Regions from separate parts of the Homo sapiens genome. Here all the other regions are linked to region 2. The links are contacts of gene promoters, found by promoter capture Hi-C in blood cells and fetal thymus (Javierre and others, 2016). All regions are on one chromosome and are shown on one strand. The core of a region is centred on a gene start or on the middle of the fragment in contact, and the rest is flanking DNA. Distances in the headings are between cores, read along the strand shown. Region 1 overlaps CHSY1 (chondroitin sulfate synthase 1). Region 2 holds the start of LRRK1 (leucine rich repeat kinase 1). Region 3 has its middle 58 kb from the start of ASB7.

Region 1 (2,700 bases), core at 65-2,564, 320 kb after region 2:
GCAGATCACAAGGTCAGGAGTTCAAGACCAGCCTGGCCAACATGGTGAAACCCCATCTCTACTAAAAAAAAAAATACAAAATTTAGCCAGGCATGGTGGCGTGTGCCTGTAATCCCAGCTACTCAGGAGGCTGAGGCAGAAGAATTGCTTGAACCCGGGAGGCAGAGGTTGCAATGAGCCGAGATCGCACCACTGCACTCCAGCCTGGACAAAAGAGCAAGACTCCATCTAAAAAAAAAAAAAAAAAAAAAAAAAACAGAGGCAAATGTGCAAGGCCTGGCAGAGTACACTAGAGATGCAGGCCTCTATGTTGCAAGAGCCACAGGAAGCCTCTAGAGGGAATGCGGCAGAAGACAAGATTAAGGCCCACACATTTTGAACTCCCTAGGAATGGAGAAGAAGGCCGAAGGAAGCCAGAGTGGACACAGGAAGACCACTGAGTAAACTACTGCAGCAGCCCAGACCCGGGTTTAAGAGACAACGGTTGCCCATCAACAGAGGGAAGATGAGTGGTCAATTGCGAGGAAACCACATAAAGGGTTTAAGAGACAACGGTTGCCCGTCGACAGAGGGAAGATGAGTGGTCAACTGCGAGGAAACCACGTAAAGGGTGTAAGAGACAACGGTTGCCCATCGACAGAGGGAAGATGAGTGGTCAACTGCGAGGAAACCACGTAAAGGCTGCTTCTGCTGAGCAGCTAATTGAAGGCTATCATATCGCACTTTCCCTCCTACTTTCTTCACGTTCTGTATTCAGATCTAAAGTTGTTTGGCTATAATAATTCATTCATACAGACTACTTCCAAGAAAAATGTATCGTGGAGAATAAATAAAATAGTAAATTTAATCTTAAAATAAAAAAAGCAGTTATCAAATGATGTTCTTTCAAATATTTTTTATTTTACCTGTTACAAGTGTATTTATTATAGTGAAAAATTACTTGAAGGATCAATGAAACCCCCACACATCTTTAAGGGAAAGTCTTAGGAGAGAAATATCTGAAAAGATACACACCAAATCTCTGCGGAAGAGGTACACAAGGAGGAAAATTGGGAGGAGCTGGAATGTGTGTGGACAAAGGTGACTTTCACTTTTTATTCTATGCATCTCTATATTGAAGGACAACTGCATAAGTATCATATTGTTTTTTTTAAAAAAAATTGTGATAAAATATACATAACATAAAACTTACCATCTTAACCATTTCTAAATGTAAAGTTCAGCAGCATTCAGTGTTGTGAAACCATCGGCACCATCCATTTCCAGAACTTTTTTCATCTTGCAAAACTGAGATTCTAAATATTTACTTTTGTAATTTTAAAAAGAACTTACAATGAAGCACTTGGAAAACAAATGACTGGCTTTTATTTCTCTTCCAAACCCAAATATGAGGAATACAAAACAACTTCGAATGTATCTCTTTCAAGTAGAGGCAAAATTCAATGGAATTCGACTTTCTGCCAACACGCCTCTCAAAAAGTGCAAGGATTAAATATATACATTTTTTCATCACATTTAGGATGTTAACTGGAAGATGCACCATTGTTTTATCTATCAACAAATTTAAAAAATACTGCCAATCATAATCCCATGACGCCGGTAACTATAAAATGCATCCTAATTTCTGAGATGTCAAAATCACAGAATGGATATAAGATGGTGTTGTTAATGTTTTCCCTTAGTGCCTATGGATTTAAAATGGACCTGTATTCTTACGCCACTTAAATAACTCATTAACAAAGAACAAGAATAACAACAAAAAACAAATTCAGCCCAGACATTCATTCCACGGTTATTAACAGATACTGTTCTAGGTACTGCACTTCATTTTCACAAAGGATATGCTCCTGAAGAAAAAGGATGTAGAATAAACGTAGAGATGTGGAAATTAATTTAAAGAAAAACCAATCCCACCTACAAAGGGACAAGTCCTTTTGCAAATGCGACAATGTGTGAATGTGTGACAAGCTATACAGAGTCTTCTGATGCGGTGACATATGGAGGGGAGATAACTTCTCAGAACTCCTCCAGCCTTGGGAAGTTAGTAAGGACAAAATTATAGTGCAATGACCCCCCATTCAAGTCGAGGAGCCCCTGATAATGCTCTCTTTATAGAGAAATGTTTTTCATTTGGCAGTCGCAACAATTCTTTGAAAATGTAAATAATTTCAGTGCTTGGCACATAATAGAGGTCACTAAATGTGTGCACTGAATACTGCCCACTCATGTACAATAAGTAACTTAATGGTGCCACACGTGTTTGCAAAAGGTCAGAAATCATTTCTATCTTGTACTTTGAGAAATTTTCAACCTAGGAAGCCATGAAAATACTAAAACACTGTAATGTTATTTGGGAGATGGGGTGGGCGAGACAATTCCTGCCTTCAAAGAACAACCAACTAAGGAGGCGAATCTACAGCATCACCGCAAGAGCTGGCTCTGGAATCAGGCCATGGGGGCGAGAACTCCAGCTCCACTTGGGACAAGTTACTCTGTGCCTCAGTTTCCTTATCTGTAAACGGGGGTTGTTGTGAGGGTTAAATGAGCTCTCTGTAAACAGCTTAGAAGCCTGCCTGGCACTATGTAAGTATGACTTATTATTAAGGAAGACAAGAGTTTGCAAATCAAATAAGGTAGTGAAAGAACAGGAAAGTGTGGGCTCCACGTGGACTAGTCAGTCTCAGGAGCACACGGAGCAAA
Region 2 (2,700 bases), core at 63-2,562:
TTTAGAAGGGAAGTGGAGGTGCCCCATCTTCACCTGCCGCGTCCCCTCCAGCGTCTGCCCGGGCCCTGGGCCTGCGCTCCCTCGCGGTGGCGCCAGGTGGCGGGGCTGCGCGCCCTGGAGGAGCTGCACCGCCGTCGCGGGGCTCTCTCAGCACTGAGGACACCACGCCCTGCAAATTGTTGGGAACTTGTCGGTGGCAATCACACTGCTGGCTCCTGCAAACTGGTGTGAGGCCCTCAGGGGTGAGAACAGGATTGCAGAACTGCGCTCACCCTTTTGGAAAGTCGTCCAGTGGCAGAAGTAGCCTCCCAGGAGCAGAGCGAAGCTGCTCGGTGGTCCCCTCTCCAACCAGGGACCCAAGAAGCCGCTCAAGGGAACACGGCCCCGCGGCGTCCGGGAGGTCCTGCAGGAGCCCTGCGGCTGCCCCGGTTCTGTGAAATGGCAGTGAGGGTGGGGGAGATGTGCGCTAAATCCTGGGAACGTGCGAGTCATAACTTTCCAGGAGAGGGGCCCAGGGCGCTGGTCCTGCAGGGCGTGGAACCCTCTGCTCTTCCTGAGCAGGCTTTGTCCCCGGGTCGACACGGGGAGCTCAGCGTGAGGCCCGCCTGCAGCGTGGACGCAGATCTTTTTTATGGTCTGCGTTTCTGTATTAGCCTCAGCAGCCTGGTGACGCCTTTATAAAAGGTCGAAACACGATAAATTGCCAATATTCCACGTTTTATGTATTCCCCCCAAAGCCGACAATTAACAATGACTCACCGAGCAGCAGATTCTTTGCACACATCCATAATTGAATCAGTAAAATCCATGTGTTGGAGGATATGCAAATTGCAGGTCGTTAACGCTTTAGAACGACACATTTCTGTATCGCCCCGTGAAGAGCTCTACGCACATGAATGTTCCCCGTCTGTTTAACTGTTACGGCCGCAGTGTGTGGGCCGCAGGCGCGCTGGGGGCTCATCTGCTGATTTTGCTGCCCCTGGAGCAGAGGGATAGCGAAAGCGGGGCTGAGCGCAGCACGGACCGATCCCATCGCCGCGCTCGCCCCGCGTGGAGGCAGCCGGGTGCCCGAACCTGAAGGAGGACCCGGTGCCGGAAGGGCCCGCGGACCCCGGCGTCTCCCGGGGCATCGAGCGCCATCGCCCGCGTTTTACGGCCAGGGAAACTGAGGCGGCCGCCGAGGGGACGCCTCGCGACGGTTCCTGGGAGAGCTGGCGGCGGCCTTGCTCTGCGCGCTCTTCGCGCCGCCCTCCCCGCCCGCCCGCCTCAGGATTGAGGAAGTGCGTCTGGGCCCGGCCCCGGCGCGGGGGGCAGACGGCGGTGGGACGGCCAGGCCCCGGCCCCGCCAGTGTGTCCGCCCGGCCCCGCGTCCCGGAGCGCCCGCACCCGGCCCCGCCGCCGCCTCAGGTAAGCGCCGCTCCTGCCGGCGCCCCCCGGCGGCCTGGCTGCCTCCCGGCCCCGCCCGGGGAACCCAGAGCCCGCGCCCGGCGCCCGCGGGGAGCCTCGGCCTCTGCCTGCCCGCGGGCCCCTGCGCTCCGGGCGGCCGCGTGGTCGGGCACGGGGGGCCGTTGCGCAGGGGCCGCGGCCCGAGGGGCGCGGAGGGCGTGTGGGGCGACCCCGGTCTCACGTCCCCGCTGCCTCCCGCCGCGCCCGGAGCCCAGCCAGCCTGTGGGAGGGGAGCGCGCGGGGCCCGAGCAGGGAACCCCGAAACCCCGTCCGGGCAGGGTCGGGAAAGCTGGGAAGCGGAGGCAAGAGACACGAGTCGGGAGACACGAGCCGGGGAGCCCATAGGTTTCCTCTGCCTTTGGAGCGAACCCAGTCCCTTAGCGGGGAGCGGGCGGAGTGTGAGCGCGCGGGTGAGCCCGTGCCGGGGTGTCGGCAAGAGACCGCCCGGGAGCCTCTCGCTGGTCCGGGGCTTCCTGGGGTTGCGGGGCGGCCCAGCGAGGCTTCACCCTCCTCGATGTCTGGGTCACGCTTCTTGCCCAGGTGGTCTCTGGCTGGCGCAGATACAACTGCTCTGTCTACCATGGTCTCTGCAAGCTACAGGGGACCTTCCTGGCAGGCAGGGACGCGGGAAGGAAGCCTAGGAAGGCCGGGGTCAGCGAGGAGACGCTGGTGGAGAATCTGAGAACCCCCGTGGCCATCTCAACCTACCCCTTCACAGTATGAGGCCGCGAAGTTTTTCTCCCACGAACACTTCCCCTGCAACAGGTAGAGAAACGGGGGCATATAGCTTTCAGCAAACCTCTCACCGTGTACACTAATGATAGAGTTTGCCAGCCACTCACAGGGTATCAAAATGCCCAGACATTAAAGGGATAGCTAGAACATGCACAATTTTGGAAAATGTTAACATTAAACGCCTTTTATGATTTGATTCTCTTCATCTTTGCCTATGTCCTGAAAGAGAAAATAATATAACAAACTAACCTCACACCTAATTTGTTCCTAAAGGAGGTTTTGCGGTCAGCCAAACCTTTCCCTCTCCCAAAAGTCGATGTCTCTGGCAGTGACCTCGCAGTCAACTCGGATCCTCAGATAAAAAACATTCAGTCTGTTGAATCTATGTCTAAAATGTGTCCTGATCTGTCCCCTTTTTCTTATGCCCCCACCCCCCACCCTGCCCCTTGTCCAGGGTACCAGCATCTCTTTACTGTAGGATTTCAGTTCCCCCTTCCTCCATTCTCTATATAGCAGCGT
Region 3 (2,700 bases), core at 87-2,586, 260 kb before region 2:
TGTGCCCTCCTTTGCCCCGACGACTTGCAGGCCCCTATGTTGCAATAACCAGGCTGGCTTCCTCTGCAGAAAGGCCTTTGAAGGGAGACTCTCACAGCTGTGAGGGGATGCAACAGCGACGTCGAGTGTCTTGGTGATGAGCTGTGACATTCTGGTCACCAGGGTGTGCTCACCTGCCTGGAAGGAGCCCCCACCCCCAGGAGAGCCACTATGTAACCGATGCCAGGCCCTGCAGTGACTGGTGGCCGGGCAGGGTGGGGATGCCGGCACCTGAGTTCGGTTGCTGCCTCATCCGTGAGCCGGGCTGGCTCCCAGGTGTTGAAGTCCTCGTGGCATGCACTTCTGGACAGCTTTGTGCCTTGAGATAAAAAAGCACAGGCCGGGCGCTGTGGCTCACACCTGTAATCCTAGCACTTTGGGAGGCGGAGGCAGGTGGATTGCCTGAGCTCAGGAGTTCGAGACCAGCCTGGGCAGCACGGTGAAACCTTGTCTCTACTAAAATACAAAAAATTAGCCGGGCTTGGCGGTGTGCGCCTATAGTCCCAGCTACTCCAGAGGCTGAGGCAGGAGAATTGCTAGAACCCGCGAGGCGGAGGTTGCAAGTGAGCCGAGATCGTGCCACTGCACTCCAGCCTGGGCGACAGAGCGAGACTCCGTCTCTAAAAAAAATTTTTAAAAAGCATGTATATAGGCTCCGCGTGGAAACATCCAAACCGTGTGTTATATGAGGAGCCTTTGAGAATTCTGTAGAAACACTTACTCATGAAGCCTATAATTAAGTAACTTTGGCTAGCTTCATGGAAATGCTTGATGTTTAGGAAGTTATTAGAGGGTTCAAAAAAAAAAAACCCTACCCTGAGATTAACCGATACCATTACTTCCTACTCCATCTAACAATTATTTAATTAAAAAGTACTCTAATCACCTTGTGTTTTAGTGGGCAGTAATAAAAAGCCTGCTTAGTAGAAGCTCATCTTTGCATGACATGCACTTTGAGAGATTTTTCAGGTCAGAGTCTATCCCCTGGAAGTGATACAGACCCTGAGAGGAGTCCCACGGTGCTTCTAACTCAAGCCTAACCCCCGTTCGGTTCTGCCCTGGTGTTCCTTACTGCACATGTTCACGAAATCCCAGGAGGGTTTAGAAATGACCCTGGTGAGTGCCGCTAGCTCATTCGACACATACTTTTTGAGCACCTATGCTGAAGGACCAGATTTGTGCCAGCACTTGGAAGGAGCCCGCGTGGGAGCCCAGATGGTGGGCGAGAGGACAGAAGCAGGGCTGGCACGGGAAGATTGGGCTGGGTGGAGATCAGGGCTGGGGCTGTGCGGAGCCGGGGACTTCTACTTTCCAGATTCAAAACGTACGCCATCCCTGGGGTGTGGAATTACGGTGCCATCCCTGGGGTGTAGAATTACGGTGCCATCCCTGGGGTGTGGAATTACGGTGCCATCCCTGGGGTGTGGAATTACGGTGCCATCCCTGGGGTGTGGAATTACGGTACTCTCTGCATTAGTGCAGGTGAGCAAGCATCTGTACCCACTGGAGCGCTTTTTAAAATAGTGCGGGTCCTACCCCCAGAATTTCAGATGCAGCGGTTCTCAGGTGGGGCTTAAGAATCTCCACGTCTATCCGGGCATGGCGGCTCATGCCTGTAATCCCAGCACTTTGGGAGGCTGAGGCAGGCAGATCACCTGAGGTCAGGAGTTCAAGACCAACTTGGCCAACATGATGAAGCTCCATCTCTACTAAGCAGAAAAAAAAAAAAAAATTAGCCAGGCGTGGTGGCATGTGCTTGTAGTCCCAGCTACTCAGGAGGCTGAGCCACAAGAATTGCCTGAGCCCGGGAGGCGGAGGTTGCAGTGAACCAAGATCGTGCCACGGCACTCCAGGCTGGGTGACAAAGTGAGGCTCCGTCTCAAAAAATAAAAAATAATAATCTCCGTGTCTAACAAGCACCCAGGTGAGGTGTGTGCTGTTGGTCTGTGGACCCAACTTAGAACCACTGTGTGAGGGTATTTGGACTGTGAGGTGTGTGCTGTTGGTCTGTGGACCCAACTTAGAACCACTGTGTGAGGGTATTTGGACTCTTTGTAGCAAAGAAAGGACAAGGTAAAAAAAGAAAAAGAAAGAAATCCTACAGTCACTATGAGATGTTAGAAAAGCCACCTATCTGCTTATCCATGAGATGTAAGTAAAGATGCAGTGATTTTTCAGAACCCACACGTGAAACTGAGTCTTTGTATTTTATGGGCCGGCCTTGAATAGTTCTGCATGTGTTATGTGAACAAAGACTACAAATCTCTCCGGCTACACTACAAGCTGGCTCGACATCGAGACCTTCATGTCTCCAATTATCTTTTGCAACTACTTAATTTCAGTTGGGCACAGACAAAACCAGTAGCCTGTAGTTCTGTTATCCTGCTGTTAATGTTCTTCAGTCTCATTTGGTGGCTTGTAAATAATAATGTGTGCCAAACGTGAATAATGACAGCCCTAGCCTGCTCCAGGGTGGGAGAGACGATGACTCTAGCTGCCTCAGCCAGCATGTGCCTTGGCACTGCCCGTGAGGCGGCCTGCCAATGAAGTGTCTCTAAGAAGCATGGGTAGCATTGCCCCAATTGCCGATCGCAGATAGAAAACACCTTGCCAGCTCCAGCTGGCTGCAGCCTGACCAACCCACCCCGTAACCCCTGAACA

Evidence for each region. Contacts are between HindIII fragments. The CHiCAGO score rates a contact against its expected background, and 5 or more counts as called.
Region 1: a contact is called between a fragment that was not itself captured here and the fragment with the promoter of LRRK1 in region 2, in 1 of 17 cell types (M2 macrophages). The highest score is 5.2, in M2 macrophages.
Region 3: a contact is called between a fragment that was not itself captured here and the fragment with the promoter of LRRK1 in region 2, in 1 of 17 cell types (endothelial precursors). The highest score is 8.9, in endothelial precursors.

Annotation. Positions count from the first base shown.
Region 1 is chr15:101,236,993-101,239,692 of GRCh38, forward strand. All of the region lies in intron 1 of CHSY1 (chondroitin sulfate synthase 1), which reads right to left. Among named protein-coding and RNA genes, the nearest start is that of CHSY1, 14 kb to the right of the region's middle. The HindIII fragment of the contact is 3,097 bases long and covers 1-2,700 here.
Region 2 is chr15:100,918,045-100,920,744 of GRCh38, forward strand. It overlaps LRRK1 (leucine rich repeat kinase 1), which reads left to right and starts at 1,313. Exons shown (of 34, transcript NM_024652.6): 1 at 1,313-1,407. ALDH1A3-AS1 (ALDH1A3 antisense RNA 1) reads right to left here and starts at 1,239. Exons shown (of 2, transcript NR_135827.1): 1 at 760-1,239. RefSeq lists silencers at 1-199, 960-1,549 and enhancers at 1-577, 330-419, 470-589, 1,764-2,355. The HindIII fragment of the contact is 4,524 bases long and covers 1-2,700 here.
Region 3 is chr15:100,658,831-100,661,530 of GRCh38, forward strand. No RefSeq gene overlaps it. Among named protein-coding and RNA genes, the nearest start is that of ASB7, 58 kb to the left of the region's middle. The HindIII fragment of the contact is 6,586 bases long and covers 1-2,700 here.